Linked DNA regions of Homo sapiens: regions 1, 2 and 3 are each linked to region 4. The links are contacts of gene promoters, found by promoter capture Hi-C in blood cells and fetal thymus (Javierre and others, 2016). All regions are on one chromosome and are shown on one strand. The core of a region is centred on a gene start or on the middle of the fragment in contact, and the rest is flanking DNA. Distances in the headings are between cores, read along the strand shown.

Region 1 (3,325 bases), core at 826-3,325, 560 kb after region 4:
CCAGTGATCAGCCTGCCTCGACCTCTCAAAGTGTTTCAATTACAGGCGTGAGCCACTGCACCCAGCCATTGTGACTAAGTTTTAACCTAAGAATTCTGTAACAGATCTCACTGTCTGCACCAAAATTAAATTTAAATGCAATTAAAAGCAACTGATTGAACGACCCAGCCAGGGAGAGCACCTAGGGAGACATGATGACGAAATGGAATGTGGTGTCCCGGATGGGACCCTGGAACAGGAAAGAACATTAGGAAAAACCCAGAGAAATCTGAATGAAGTACAGACTTGGGTTAATAACATCTCAATATTGGTTCATGAATTTTAACAAATGCACTATACTAACATGTTAATAATAGGGGAAGCTGGGTACAGGTATATGGGAACTCTTTGTACTATCTTTGCAATTTCTCTCTCTCTCTCTCTCGTGTGTGTGTGTGTGTATGTGTGTGTGTAGACAAGCAAGAACATACTGATCCTCCCAGCAATAATGATTTGGTGCCTACCAAGTGTCACATACCATGTAAAAGTGATCTACATCTTCATTTATTCCTCACACCAGTGCTATGAGCTGGGCATAATCTGCATTTTACAGATAAAGAAACTGAACAATGGAGAGGTTACGTACCTTGCTCATAGTCACACGGCAAGGTTACTTGCAAATGAAGGGCTCAAATTCAGGTTGACAGGACTGCAAAGTTCCTGTTAAAGCTCAGCAATATTGCCCGAAAAATCCCAAACTGTGAACATAAAACAGTTCAAAACAAGCTTCTTGTGGGCAACAAAAATGATGCATACTTTCCAATCTGCCCGGCTTTAAAAAGAAAATAGTTTAAAAGCACAGCACACCCGAGACACTGACAACACTCAGTGCTGGAGACGATGTGGAACAGTGACTCCCCTTCATTGCTGGTGAGAATGCAAAAGCAGACTGGCAGTTTCTACAAGGCTAACCATAGGTCTACCATATGGCCCAGCAATTGCACTCCTAGGCATTTACCCCAATGAGCTGAAAACTTACACCCACTCAAAACCTGGGCATGAATGTTTACAGCAGCTCTATTCATAGTTATCAGAGACTGGAGTCAAGATGTCCTTCAATAGGTGGATTAGATAAAACTATGGTACATCCATACAATGGAACATTATTCAGTGATAAAAAGAAATGAGCTGGCTGGGCGTGGTGGCTCATACCTGTAATCCCAGCACTTTGGGAGGCCAAGGTGGGAGGATTGCTTGAGCCGAGGAATTTGTGCCTGTAGTACCAGCTACTCAGGAGGATGACATGGGAGGATTGCTTGAGTTTGGGAGGTTGAGGCTGCAGTAAGCCACGTTCACGCCACTGTACGCCAGCCTGGGTGACAGGGCAAGGCCCCATCTTAAACAAACAAACAAAAATAAAAAACTCAAAATAAATAAATAAATAAATTAGCTGGGTGTGGTGGCACACATCTGTAATCCCAGCTACTCAGGAGGCTGAGGCGGGAGAATCGCTTGAACCCGGGAGGCAGAGGTTGCAGTGAGCAGAGATCACACCACTGCACTCCAGCCTGGGTGACAGGGTTAGACTCTGTCTCAAAAAAAAAAAAAAAAAAAAAAACAGTACCTAAGGAATTCTTCATGTTTCTATCTTGTAATAAGCACGGGCATTTATTGAAAAAAAAAAAAAAAAAAAAAAGCTAACAAGCTGCAAAAAGACCTGGAGGAGTCCAGACACAATGGCTCACACCTGTAATCCCAGCACTTTGGGAGGCCAAGATGGGAAGATTGCTTGAGCCCAGGAGTTTGAGACCAGCCTGGGCAACATGGCAAAACCTTGTCTCTACAAAAAATACAAAAAAATTAACCAGGCAAGGTGATGCGCACCTGTAGTCCTGCTACCTGAGAGGCTGAGATGGGAGGATCCTGAGCCTGAGAGGTTGAGGCTGTGGTGAGCTGTGATTGTGCCCTTGCACTCCAGCCTGGGCAAGACTGAGATTGTCTTAAAAAAGAAAAAAAAAAAAAGATATGGAGGAATCTTATATGCATAGTAAATGAAAGAAGCCAGTCTGAAAAAATTACTTACTGTATGATCCAACTATATGATATTCTGGAAAAGGCAAAACTGAAAAGAAAGATCAGTGACTGTCAGGGTTGGTGGGGAGGGGTGAATAAGGGGAACCCAGAGGATTTTTAGGGCAGTGAAGCTATTCTGGACGATACTGTAGTGGTGGATACATGTTATTATGCATTTGGCAAAATCCACAGAATGTATAAGAGAAGGAATAAAGCCTAATGTAAACTAAACTTTAGTTAATAAGAATGTAATGTTGGTTTATCAAATGTACCATCCTAATAAAAGATGTTCATAGCTGGAAAAACTGGGAGTGGGGTGTGTGGAGTATATGCGAACGCTGTAGTTTCTCCTCTATTTTCCTGAACACCTAAAACTGTTTTCTTAAGTCCATTAAAAAAAAAAACTCATACAGCCTATTAAAAATTTATTAGAGGTAGAATATCAATAATCCAGGTGAAAGTCTACAACCATGTCAGAACACAATCTAACTCCTTTGATATTTACAATCTCAAAAAATTCAGGCATGGGTACTAAGCAGACAGCAGAAACCCAACATTCAAAACCATCACAGCAAAAAGTCATTCCATACAAAGACAAAAGAACTCTACACCAGGAGGCTCACCATGTCTCGCCGAAAGTTATGAAGTGGAAGTTTAGCTAATGCCTGAAAGGCGTCCTTTATCTTGATGTTTTTCATTTCAACAAGAAATTCTGAAAACGTCTCAACATCTCTGAGTAATGGAAGAAGGCATCACCTTCTCTAGCTAGGAAAAGGGATAGAGCTGCGTCTAAATGTTTGAGTGGTGTCCGAAGCAGAAAGGGAGCTGTTGTCTTTCAGGGGCCGCCATGCCTGCCGTTAGGAAATGCCATTTGACTCGCAAACTGGTTATGGTAGTTGCTGATGAAGAAGATGAGGAGCCAGGATGTCATTCCTTTTTTACACAGTCTGTCTTCCTGCCCATAACCACACTTTAATCACCATGGGCAACGACCGTACTTAAATTTTGCATTGTAAAACAGGGACGCAGCAGTAATGGAAAAAGTATCATCACTCATAAAATTTGGAAAATGCAACATGAGACTTCTGTGTCTGAGAGAGAGAGAGAGAATTAACACACACAAACCAGGAAGGAAAATGAAACACAAGCATCTGCTTTTCATCAGCAAACACAGGCAAAGCAAGGGGCAGCAGAGGCTGTGTCACTGAAGTATCCGAGGATTTAAACATTCCTACATCCGGACTCCTTGGTCAACCAAAGCAAGGCTCTCTGA
Region 2 (3,548 bases), core at 937-3,436, 650 kb after region 4:
GTGGACCCCAAGTACACATACACACCCCTACATGTGCATGAAGGCTCTCAGTCACCTCCCCTGACCCTTCCCACAGGAAACACACATGTAGGCAAGCACTCACAATACACGCCACCCTTGTACAGTCAGACGTACAATGATGACAGGAAAAAATAATCCAACCACAGATTCATGCTTTCACTTACTCGGCTTGGGGTGGGTGGCAGCAGGTTGGGGACAGGCCTGCTGGAGACCCAAATTCAGGAAATGGAGAGAGACAGACAATAAATCCAGCCAGCAAGAGAGTACGTGGGTTCTGAAGATGAGCTGTCTTGATACTCAGAGATTTAATTTCAGTGGGCTACTAGGGGGTGAGGTGAGGTCTGGGGAACAATGAGGTGCAGCCTGTCCTGTGGTGGGGTTAGCTGCAGGGCTGTCACTCCTGTGGGCCTGAGGGATCACCAAGGGGAAATGCAGTGGTCCTGGGTTGGGGCAGGAGTCGGGAATGGAGTGGGTCAGATGAGAGGGCAGACCCTGGTGGAGATGCCCATGTGAGCTATGATTCGAAAGGAAAAACATCTCAAACCCTGCAGCCACACAGACCCAGCTTCAAATCCCAGCTCTCCCATTCCCTCGCTGGGTGACCCCAGGACTATTCCTTAATCTCTCTGAGTCTCAGGTGCGTCTCACACTTTGTAAAGAGAACCGAGGAGGCCATGCTGTTCACTGCTGCATCTCCGGGACTTAGCACAGTGCCTGGCACATATTAGGAGTGCAGTAAGTATTTGTTGAATAAATGAAAGAAGAAGCAGGCATTAAAGCAACAATGAGAAGCCACCACTTACCAAATCATCAAATAGGCAAAAATGGAAAAAGTAAGATAATGGTGAAGGCATGGGGAAACATTGTTGAATGCTTTTGCCCAGAAGGTAAATGTGCACAGCACGCTGGCAGGTGACTGGGTGGCACCTATGAACATTCAAACGGTAAGAACGGTTTATCACATGTGTGCCAAGAGGCTGTACAGGGAGGTGCAGGCCACGCTGTTTGCAAGAGCAAAAATACAACCTATGTGTCCACCCACCGGGGACGGCTAAATGAACATACGCTGAGGAGTATCATGCAGTTCTTAAGGAGCATGGGGTCGATCTATATGTGATCTAGCCAGATTGCCAGAGTATCTGTTGGGTGGAAAGTGCAAGATGGAGAAAGACATGACATTGATAGAGGGAAAAGTCCTACACAAAGGAATACTATTTTTTTTTTTTAAATAATTGGGGTCTTGCTCTGTCACCTCGGCTGGAGTGCAGTGGCACAATCATAGCTCACCACAGCCTCGAACTGACCACAAGTGATCCTCCCAGCTCGACCTCCCAAAGCGCTAGGATTACAGGCATGAGCCACCACACCTGGCCAAGGAACATAATTTTTATGGGTCAAAATACAAGCATGTAGATGCATAGAAAAAGATCCCAGGGTGGGAGCAGTGGCTTATGCCTATAATCTCAGCGCTTTGCGAGGCCCACGCGGGAGGATCACTTGAAGCCAGGAGTTTGAGACCAGCCTAGGAAACAAAGTGAGACTCTGTCTCCCTAAAAATGAAAAAATTAGCTGGGCATGGCAATGCGTGCCACCTACATGGGAAGCTGAGTCAGGAGGATTGCTTGAGCACAGTGGGGGTGGGGTGGGGGTGTCAAGGCTGCAGTGAGCTGTGTTCACGCCACTGCACCCCAGCCTGAGTGACAGAGGGAGACCCAGTATCAAAAAATAAAAATAAAAATAAAAAAGATCCCAAAGAACAGACCAAGCTGGTGCCTGGGTTACCTAGAGGGAGGAAAATTGAAGGAAAAAGAGGATAAAAAAGGAATGAGCATCAGTGAATGTGTCTAATGGGTGCTCAGCGAAGCTCTGTTGAATCTGGAGAGGCAGTAAAGGCATGTGGATATAACATCAGCCCCTGCTCTGGGCTTGCTGGTTTGGGCAAGGTGACCCAGAACGCTCTCCCACAGAGGGACTCATTACTCCAGGGCAGGCAGAGGTCCAGTCCAGCCCTCTCCCTTCCTCCAGACGAGTCTCCTCCTAGAAGCCACTAGGGCTGCCTTGGGGTGTCCGGCTTACCTTTGGCCTCATGCTCTGCCCAGGGCCTCACATTCTTGTCATGCTCTGCCCGGAATATGTTCTCCCTCCGTTCCCTTGGTGAGAGCTCTTTTTTTTTTTTTTTTTTTTTTTTTTTTTTTTGAGACAGGGTCTCCCTAAGTCACCCGGGCTGGAGTGCAGTGGTGTGATCTCAGCTCACTGCCATCTCTGTCTTCCGAGCTCAAGTGATCCTCCCACCTGAGGCTCCCAAGTAGCAGGGACCACAGGTATGTGTCACCATGCCCAACTAATTTTTTCATATTTTTGTAGAGATGGGGTTTTGTCATGCTGCCCAGGCTGGTCTTGAACTCCTGAACTCAAGTGATGCTCACTCTTTTTTTTTTTGAGATGGAGTCTTGCTCTGTCGCCCAGGCTGCAGTGCAGTGGCGCCATCTCTGCTCACTGCAAGCTCCGCCTCCTGGGTTCACGCCATTCTCCGGCCTCAGCCTCCCAAGTAGCTGGGACTACAGGCGCCCACCACCACGCCCGGCTAATTTTTTGTATTTTTAGTAGAGACGGCGTTTCACCGTGTTAGCCAGGATGGTCTCCATCTCCTGACCTCGTGATCTGCCTGCCTCCGCCTCCCAAAGTGCTGGGATTACAGGCGTGAGCCACTGCGCCCGGCCGTGATGCTCACTCTTTACAACTCGGTTGAGGGTTACCCCTCCCTGAGCCTGTTCAGGGCACTGCCAATTGGGCCAGTAGACGCTGGGCTTCCCACATCGTGGCATGGGAGGAGACTGCTGCTGCTCTGTGTGCCCTGAGACCAGACGCCTCCTCAGAGAGAACTGGGCCCTATTCTACCTCTCATTGCGATACCCGACATTCTCAACAGCATCACCACAGTGAGGGCCCATGGACATGAGGAATCTTCCTGCTCCACACTCTAACGTCCCCAGCCTGCTGCGTGCTAGCTCTTGTGCCTAGTTTCATAGTTTCTGCAAGTTCTTTGCCCCCTATGTCACCGCTACTGGTCCTTGCTGTCAGCTGCTGACACCTAATTTGTCACTTATGGGATGGGGTGGGGTGGGTAGAAACCTGTTAGGCTTGTTGGAATACTGTGCAAAAATGGAGTGAATAGGCCACGACAAAGATCCCAAGGGATTTACTGAGGAACAGGCACTGTGCTTCCCAGGCTCGGGCTTTGTGAGAGTTCTCTGGACCACTGGATTCAGTCAACTTGCCTGAAGCCACACAGCTGATGGGGAGGGGAGCTGGGACTGGAAGCAGGTGTGTCTGGACCCCTCCACCAGCATTCCTAGAATTCTACTTTCCTGCCCCTCCTATTTTGCAGCTGTTAACGAAACAATCTTGACTGCTTTCTGAAAGCCAGTGACTACTGACTACTTCAAGTAACAGCTGACTTCACCTCTCCTTTCTTCACCTGTGCCTGCTAGAAGAGTCTCATCAAGTCTCCAGGACTGGCGCCACTT
Region 3 (3,244 bases), core at 576-3,075, 550 kb after region 4:
AGGCATCAGCCACGGGGACTGAGGCAAGCTGAAGGCCAGACTTGACCGTCCTTGACCTCCGCCCCACCATCCCCCCCATGAATCCCTGGTGCATAGCAGGTGCTAGATGAAGTTCAGAAGAAAGAACTCCAGGGTGAATGGGAACAAGAAGGTTGGTCCTCCACACCCCCACACTGGAGGGAAGACAGAAGGGAGAGTGGCTGTGATTTGAGTGCTTTGCTGTGGTTACAGCCTAAAGACCCTGGAGACCAGGCACTGCTCCAAGTGCCTTGAAAGATGTTTGATCTGGGGGCTGGGTGCAGTGGCTCACGCCTGTAATCCCAGCACTTTGGGAGGCCGAGGCGGGTGGATCATGAGGTCAGGAATTCAAGACCAGCCTGGCCAACACGGTGAAACCTCATCTCTACTGGAAAAAAAAAAAAAAAAAAAAAAAATCCGGGCATGGTGGCTGGCGCCTGTAATCCCAGCTACCCAGGAGGCTGAGGCAGAGAACTGCTTGAACCCAGGAGGCGGAGACTGCAGTGAGCCAAGATCACACCACTGCACTCCAGCCTGGCGACAGAGTGAGACTCCGTCTCAAAAAAAAAAAAAAAAAGTTTGGGTCGGGCACAGTGGGTCACGCCTGTAATCCCAGCACTTTGGGAGGCCAAGGTGGGTGGATCATGAGGTCAGCAAATCGAGACCATCTTGGCTAACACGGTGAAACCCCGTCTCTACTAAACATACAAAAAATTAGCCGAGTGAGGTGGCGGGCTCCTGTAGTCCCAGCTACTTGGGAGGTTGGGGCAGGAGAATGGCGTGAACACGGGAGGTGGAGCTTGCAGTGAGCGGAGATCGTGCCACTGCACTGTAGCCTGGGCGACAGAGCGAAGGCTCCATCTCAAAAAAAAAAAAAAAAAAAAAGTTTGATCTTAGGCCTTACAATAGTCCAATGAGGAACGGATGATCCCCACTTAATGAGAGAAGAAACAAAGGCTCAGAGAGTTGAGGGGATTTCCCCAAGGTCATACAAGCTACAAACAGCCAGGATGGCACTGACGCGGGCCTGCCTGCCTCCCAAGGCTGCCCAAGCTCACTCAACCCCCACTTCTGCTTTTGCAATAAAAGAAAAGCAAATCACTGGTGCTCAGGGGCCCATGAGCAATTCAGAGTCAGATGCAACTAGAGTGTGCAGCCACCTGACCTGTTGGTTTCTCAATATGCTTAACGGATCCATGATTTCTGGTCCAGAAAGGAAACGCAGAAGCTTTCCTTCCTGCCTCCCACATTCTATGGGTCAAGTATTTACCAAAAACACAGCAGTGGACTGGACACCAGCAGAGATACAAAGAGGGAAACATAGTTCTCCCTTCTCAAGGCAGGTTGGACAACATCAATACTTTCCAACTGGGGGGTGTGGGTGGAGTACTTATGCATGAATTTGAAACAGATAGGAGAGGGAATGATTCCAGCGGAAAGACCAATTCACGTCTACAATATACACTGAACTCCAGCCTGGACAACATAGCAAGACTCTGTCTCTAAAAAAATTTAATCATTAGCCAGGCATGGTGGCACATGCCTGTCTAGGAGGCTGAGGCAGGAGGATCACTTGAGCCCAGGAGTTCAAAATCACAATCAACTATGATCACACCACTGCACTCCAGCCTGGGCATCAGAGCAAGGCCCTATCTCCAAAACAAAACAAGGTAAGATGTTTACATACAAATCAAGGTAAGAAAATCCAAAATAAAATATTACCAAACAAACCCCACTGGGGCCTTAAAAAAAAAGTGACCTAAACCAAGTGAGAATTGTACAGTGTGACAAGGATAGCTCAAAATTAGAACATCTTTTAATTTCAAATATATATATATATATATATATATATATATATATACACACATATTTTTTTTTTTTTTTTTTTTTTCCTGAGATGGAGTCTCGCTCTATTGCCCAGGCTGGAGTGCAGTGGTGCGATCTAGGCTCACTGCAAGCTCCGCTTCCTGGGTTCACTCAGTTCTCCTGCCTCACCCTCCCGGGACTACAGGCGTCCGCCACCACACCTGACTAGCTTTTTTGTATTTTTAGAAGAGATGGGGTTTCACCATGTTAGCCAGGATGGTCTTGACCTCCTGACCTTGTGATCTGCCTGCCTCAGCCTCCCAAAGTGCTGGGATTACAGGTGTGAGCCACTGCGCCCAGCCTAATTTCATTCATATTAATATGTTAAAAATCATAATCATCGTAGATGTTGAAAAGGCATTTGACAAAATTTACTACAAAATTTAGAAAAAAACACATCAAATTAGAAAGAGGGATACTTCCTTAAATTACACACGATAAAGGAAATTACACCCAGACACACACCCATCAAGCCAGAGCCCAGCATCATTTATAGGGGATGGAAGCAACAGAAGCTTCCATTAACCTTCGCAACAAAAGAATGCCCTCTGTTACCACTATTATTTTGGAGGCCCTAGCTGATGAAACTAGGCAAGGAGGAAAGTAAGACATTTAAGAAAAAAGCAGGAGGTAAAATAATTTACTCTGAAAAATGAGGCAGACAGATTTTGCTAAGGAGTTAGGTACAAAAGTAACATAATAAGCAGCCTTCCTTTTTCTTAATTTTTAAAATATAGAGATGGGGCCGGGCACAGCTCACGCCTGTAATCCCAGCACTTTGGGAGGCCGAGAGAGGCGGATTGCTCGAGGCCAGGAGTTCGGTACCAGCCTGGCCAACATGGCAAAACTCCACCTCTACTAATAATACAAAAATTAGCTGGGTGTGATGGCACACACCTGTAATACCGGGTACTCAGAAGGCTGAGGCATGAGAATTGCTTGAACCCAGGACATGGAGGTTGCAGTGAACCGGGACTGCATTACTGCACTTAGCCTGGGTGACAAAGAAAGACCCTGTCTCAAAAAAAAAATAACATAAAGATGCGGTCTTACTATGATGCCCAGGCTGGTCTCAAACTCCTGGGCTCGAGCAGTCCTTCTGCCTCAGTCTCCCTAAGTGCTAGGATTATAGATGTGAGCCACCAAGGCTGGCCTCAGTCCTCCTATGTACAAACAAGCAGTTAGAAAAGTTAACAGAAGAAAACATCCCATTTGCAACAGCACACTCCCAAAAAACAAAATTCTCAGAAATAAATGTGCAAAAATATACACACACAATCCATATGAAGAAATCTTTCAAATGCTGCTGAGGGATATGAAACACTTTGAATGCAAAGAAGGCCATGCTGCATGTGTTATC
Region 4 (3,242 bases), core at 196-2,695:
AATGTTGTGAACCCGGGAGGCGGGCTTGCAGCGAGCCGACATCGCGCCACTGCACTCCAGCCTGGGCTACAGAGCAAGACTCCGTCTCAAAAAAAAGAAAAAAGAAAATTAAAATACAGATCTAGATCTGGATTTTGTTAGGTTTTTTTTTTTTTTAACAACCTAAGGTTGTTCAGAAACATCTATTCTATGTATGTGCTTCTTTAGTCTGTAATTTCTAGGCAGATTAGTTGCACCCTGTCTAGACTCCTTTCAGAAAAATACTAACAATATGTTTTTCTCTGTCTTGGGCTCCACATGGGTGAATTACAGGAAAGCTTAACAGGTACTCAGAGCAACATTTTTTCCTACTTCATGAAGGGCCTAAATGCGAACTCTTAAGTATTTCTCGTTTGCTTTTGTTCTTTTCCCAGGTTTACCTAATCTGTAAGTGTAAGATGCAGTCGATGAAAAGTACTATGGGAATTCTTGAGCAAATCAGACCATTCAAAAGGAAACCACTTCACGTAATGGTGCATAAGGAAGCTAGACTCACCAAAATAACCCTGTTAGGTAAGCCGGATACACCATGGAATACGGCAATCCTCTGTTTAATTTGCAAACCCTTTGGCGGGGAGGAGGAAAGGATGGAAAAATTTGGGTGAAGGCTTTATATGACTAGTCAAACAAACGGTGAGTCATTGAAATTTTCCAGTTAACAATCCCTTCTGCCTGGGCAGAGCCTGGGCCCCAGCGCTTTATGAGCCACACTGCAGTTTTAAGCCGGAATATCTCACGGTTTTATTGTTTCTTCCACGAAATGATTACATAAAATGAAATCAGCTTTGCAATCTGCACCGGCTTTGAAATGAAGGGCAAAATCTGGCTGGGGGTGAGGAGAAAGAAGGTGGAGAGAGAATAAGGTACGGAGACTGTGAGGCAGAGAACGCAGGAAAGGTGGTGAAAAGAGAGTACAAGAATTTTCGGGAGCTGAGTGTATTTTTCTTCCCCATGTTATAGATGCTGTCCGTTTTCCCCCAGCCTGTGTCCAGCAGGCCAGAGTGGACCCCTCCTATGGGCTAAAATACTCTCGGTCTTCGGCCCAGCACAGAGCTGCACCAACCAGGGCCTGCCGCTGCCCCCCCACCAGGTGACAGGTGGGGCCGCCGAGCGGCCACCAGACCTCCGCCTCCTCGCGTTGCCTGCCGGGAGCCGGAGCCGCTTCCGGTTGCGCCCTGTCCCTGAACTTCGACTCCCGTCGGCCCCCGGGAAAACCGCAGCGGGGTAGCGCGGGCGCTGCCGGAACTTGTAGTTCCACCTCCCGCCGCGCTAAATAGCCGGAAACGGGGGCGGCCAGAACAGAGAACTACCGAGGCGAAGGTACGGGTGGCGGCGAGGGGTCAATCCGCGCCGGGGGTGGGGTTGGCTGTGAGGCCGTCGGAGGTGGTTGGGTGGGAGGAGATCCGCTCACACACACGAGGAGGAGGGTTGAGCTGCCGCCGCCGCCGCCTCTGTCGTCGTCGCGAGTGTGGAGTCGGGACTGGAGCTGCTGCCGCGGCGACGCCGGGGATCTTTGTCGCTAGCTCCCGGCCCTTCTGCCCCGCCGCCTTCCCTCAGTCAGCGTTGCCCACTCCTCTCCGGCCGGGCGCCCCTGCCTCCATTTCCCGCTCTCTGTCCACCACACACACGGCCCCCCCGATCATGGATCCGGGCAGTGGCGGCGGCGGCGGCGGCGGCGGCGGCGGCGGGAGCAGCAGCGGCAGCAGCAGCAGCGACTCGGCGCCTGACTGCTGGGACCAGGCGGACATGGAAGCCCCCGGGCCGGGCCCTTGCGGCGGCGGCGGCTCCCTGGCGGCGGCGGCCGAGGCCCAGCGGGAGAACCTCAGCGCGGCCTTCAGCCGGCAACTCAACGTCAACGCCAAGCCCTTCGTGCCCAACGTCCACGCCGCCGAGTTCGTGCCGTCCTTCCTGCGGGGCCCGGCAGCGCCGCCACCCCCAGTTGGCGGCGCCGCCAATAACCACGGAGCCGGCAGCGGCGCGGGAGGCCGTGCGGGTAAAGGCCCGGGACGCGGGAGGAAGTCCGGCCGGGCGCCGGAGCCCACATGGCGTAGGGGTGCGGTCCGGGGGCGCGCGGCCCTGGGGCCCGGTCGGCACGTGGGGCGCTGACAGTGGCGCCGTCTGCCTGGGTGGGGCGCCCCGAGCCCGGGAGCCGGCCTTCGCGGGGCGGCCCGCGGCGGTGGCCGGGCGGGGAGCGGACAGCGGGCAGCGCGCCCAAAGACCCGGACCCGAGTGCCGCCCCTCCGCGCCCCTGCCCTGCTCTGGAGTCCGCAGTTACCCACTTGAGATGGGAACCGTATGGAACGGAGTGGGGGCCGCGGCGGATCCCTGCCACGAGGCGCAGAATGAGGACAGATGGAGCCAGGAGTCATTTGGGTGGGCGTTTAGAGATCCCAGGAGTTGGGGAGGACGAATGGCCGAGTTTTCCTTTCACCTTAGGCCCAGCCGAGAGAGCGTCTTCTGCTGCGTTTTCTACTATTGAAACTGTAATTACGGTTTAAACTGTCCGTGGCCCCCAACCGTCCTGAAGGAATCCCAAGATGCATTGCAGCCTTGTGATCGGGCAGAAACTTGGCTATCAATACCAAGATCTGTTTTACCCTTAGCATTGTGTACGCTTCTAAAGTTTACAAAGTGCCACAAAGTTAGGATTCCTCACTTAATGTGTGATAGGAGACTATATTGATTTGTGTCTTTTTAAAGTGAAGCTTACACTTTTATCCTTTGTCAGCGACACGTTTAGAGAATTTTCATTGCTGTAAAATCGTTGACCTTATTCAGATTGCTTGGAATAACTCACTGTGTTCGTGCATCAGTAGTTCAGTCTATTTCTTCAGACACTTGAGCATTTGTTATAATTTAATAGTTCTCACGTGTCTTTCTGACCGTAGCTAGTAGACATACATTTTCTAATCCATAAAATTTCGAGTTAACTTTGGTTTTTAAACATCTTCCCGTACTTAGGGGTTGCTTAAGTCGTAGGTAGCATGCTTGCAGGTGCTGACGTTGTAGGAATATCCGGTGAGTGAACTTATGTATTCTCATAATGGTGCTTATTTTGTGGTAGGTAGCTTGCTTTCAGGTACTGATTTTGTGGGAATGTCAAATGAGTGAACTTAAGTATTCTCTTCCTAATGGTGCTTATTTTAGGAACTATCAGTGTTTCCTTAAAGAGAAAATGAAAAAGGAAGGAAAAGGCTGAACGT

The links. Contacts are between HindIII fragments. The CHiCAGO score rates a contact against its expected background, and 5 or more counts as called.
Region 1: a fragment that was not itself captured here is called in contact with the fragment with the promoter of GSPT1 in region 4 in 4 of 17 cell types (neutrophils, naive CD4 T cells, total CD4 T cells and 1 more); the score reaches 7.3 in neutrophils.
Region 2: a fragment that was not itself captured here is called in contact with the fragment with the promoter of GSPT1 in region 4 in 2 of 17 cell types (neutrophils and naive CD4 T cells); the score reaches 5.9 in neutrophils.
Region 3: a contact is called between a fragment that was not itself captured here and the fragment with the promoter of GSPT1 in region 4, in 1 of 17 cell types (neutrophils). The highest score is 5.4, in neutrophils.

Annotation. Positions count from the first base shown.
Region 1 is chr16:11,350,900-11,354,224 of GRCh38, reverse strand. RMI2 (RecQ mediated genome instability 2) reads right to left here. Exons shown (of 2, transcript NM_152308.3): 2 at 2,465-3,325. All of the region lies in intron 1 of LOC105371082 (a long non-coding RNA gene), which reads right to left. Among named protein-coding and RNA genes, the nearest start is that of RMI2, 7.1 kb to the right of the region's middle. The HindIII fragment of the contact is 2,616 bases long and covers 768-3,325 here.
Region 2 is chr16:11,260,559-11,264,106 of GRCh38, reverse strand. All of the region lies in intron 1 of LOC105371082 (a long non-coding RNA gene), which reads right to left. Among named protein-coding and RNA genes, the nearest start is that of SOCS1, 6.1 kb to the right of the region's middle. The HindIII fragment of the contact is 6,308 bases long and covers 1-3,548 here.
Region 3 is chr16:11,368,614-11,371,857 of GRCh38, reverse strand. All of the region lies in intron 1 of LOC105371082 (a long non-coding RNA gene), which reads right to left. Among named protein-coding and RNA genes, the nearest start is that of RMI2, 25 kb to the right of the region's middle. RefSeq lists enhancers at 633-1,133, 1,319-1,378. The HindIII fragment of the contact is 1,153 bases long and covers 1,249-2,401 here.
Region 4 is chr16:11,914,159-11,917,400 of GRCh38, reverse strand. GSPT1 (G1 to S phase transition 1) reads left to right here and starts at 1,445. Exons shown (of 15, transcript NM_002094.4): 1 at 1,445-2,032. The coding sequence starts at 1,681. RefSeq lists enhancers at 1-5, 1,306-1,455, 1,064-2,001 and silencers at 1,056-1,115, 1,826-1,895, 1,986-2,225, 2,266-2,315. The HindIII fragment of the contact is 2,427 bases long and covers 320-2,746 here.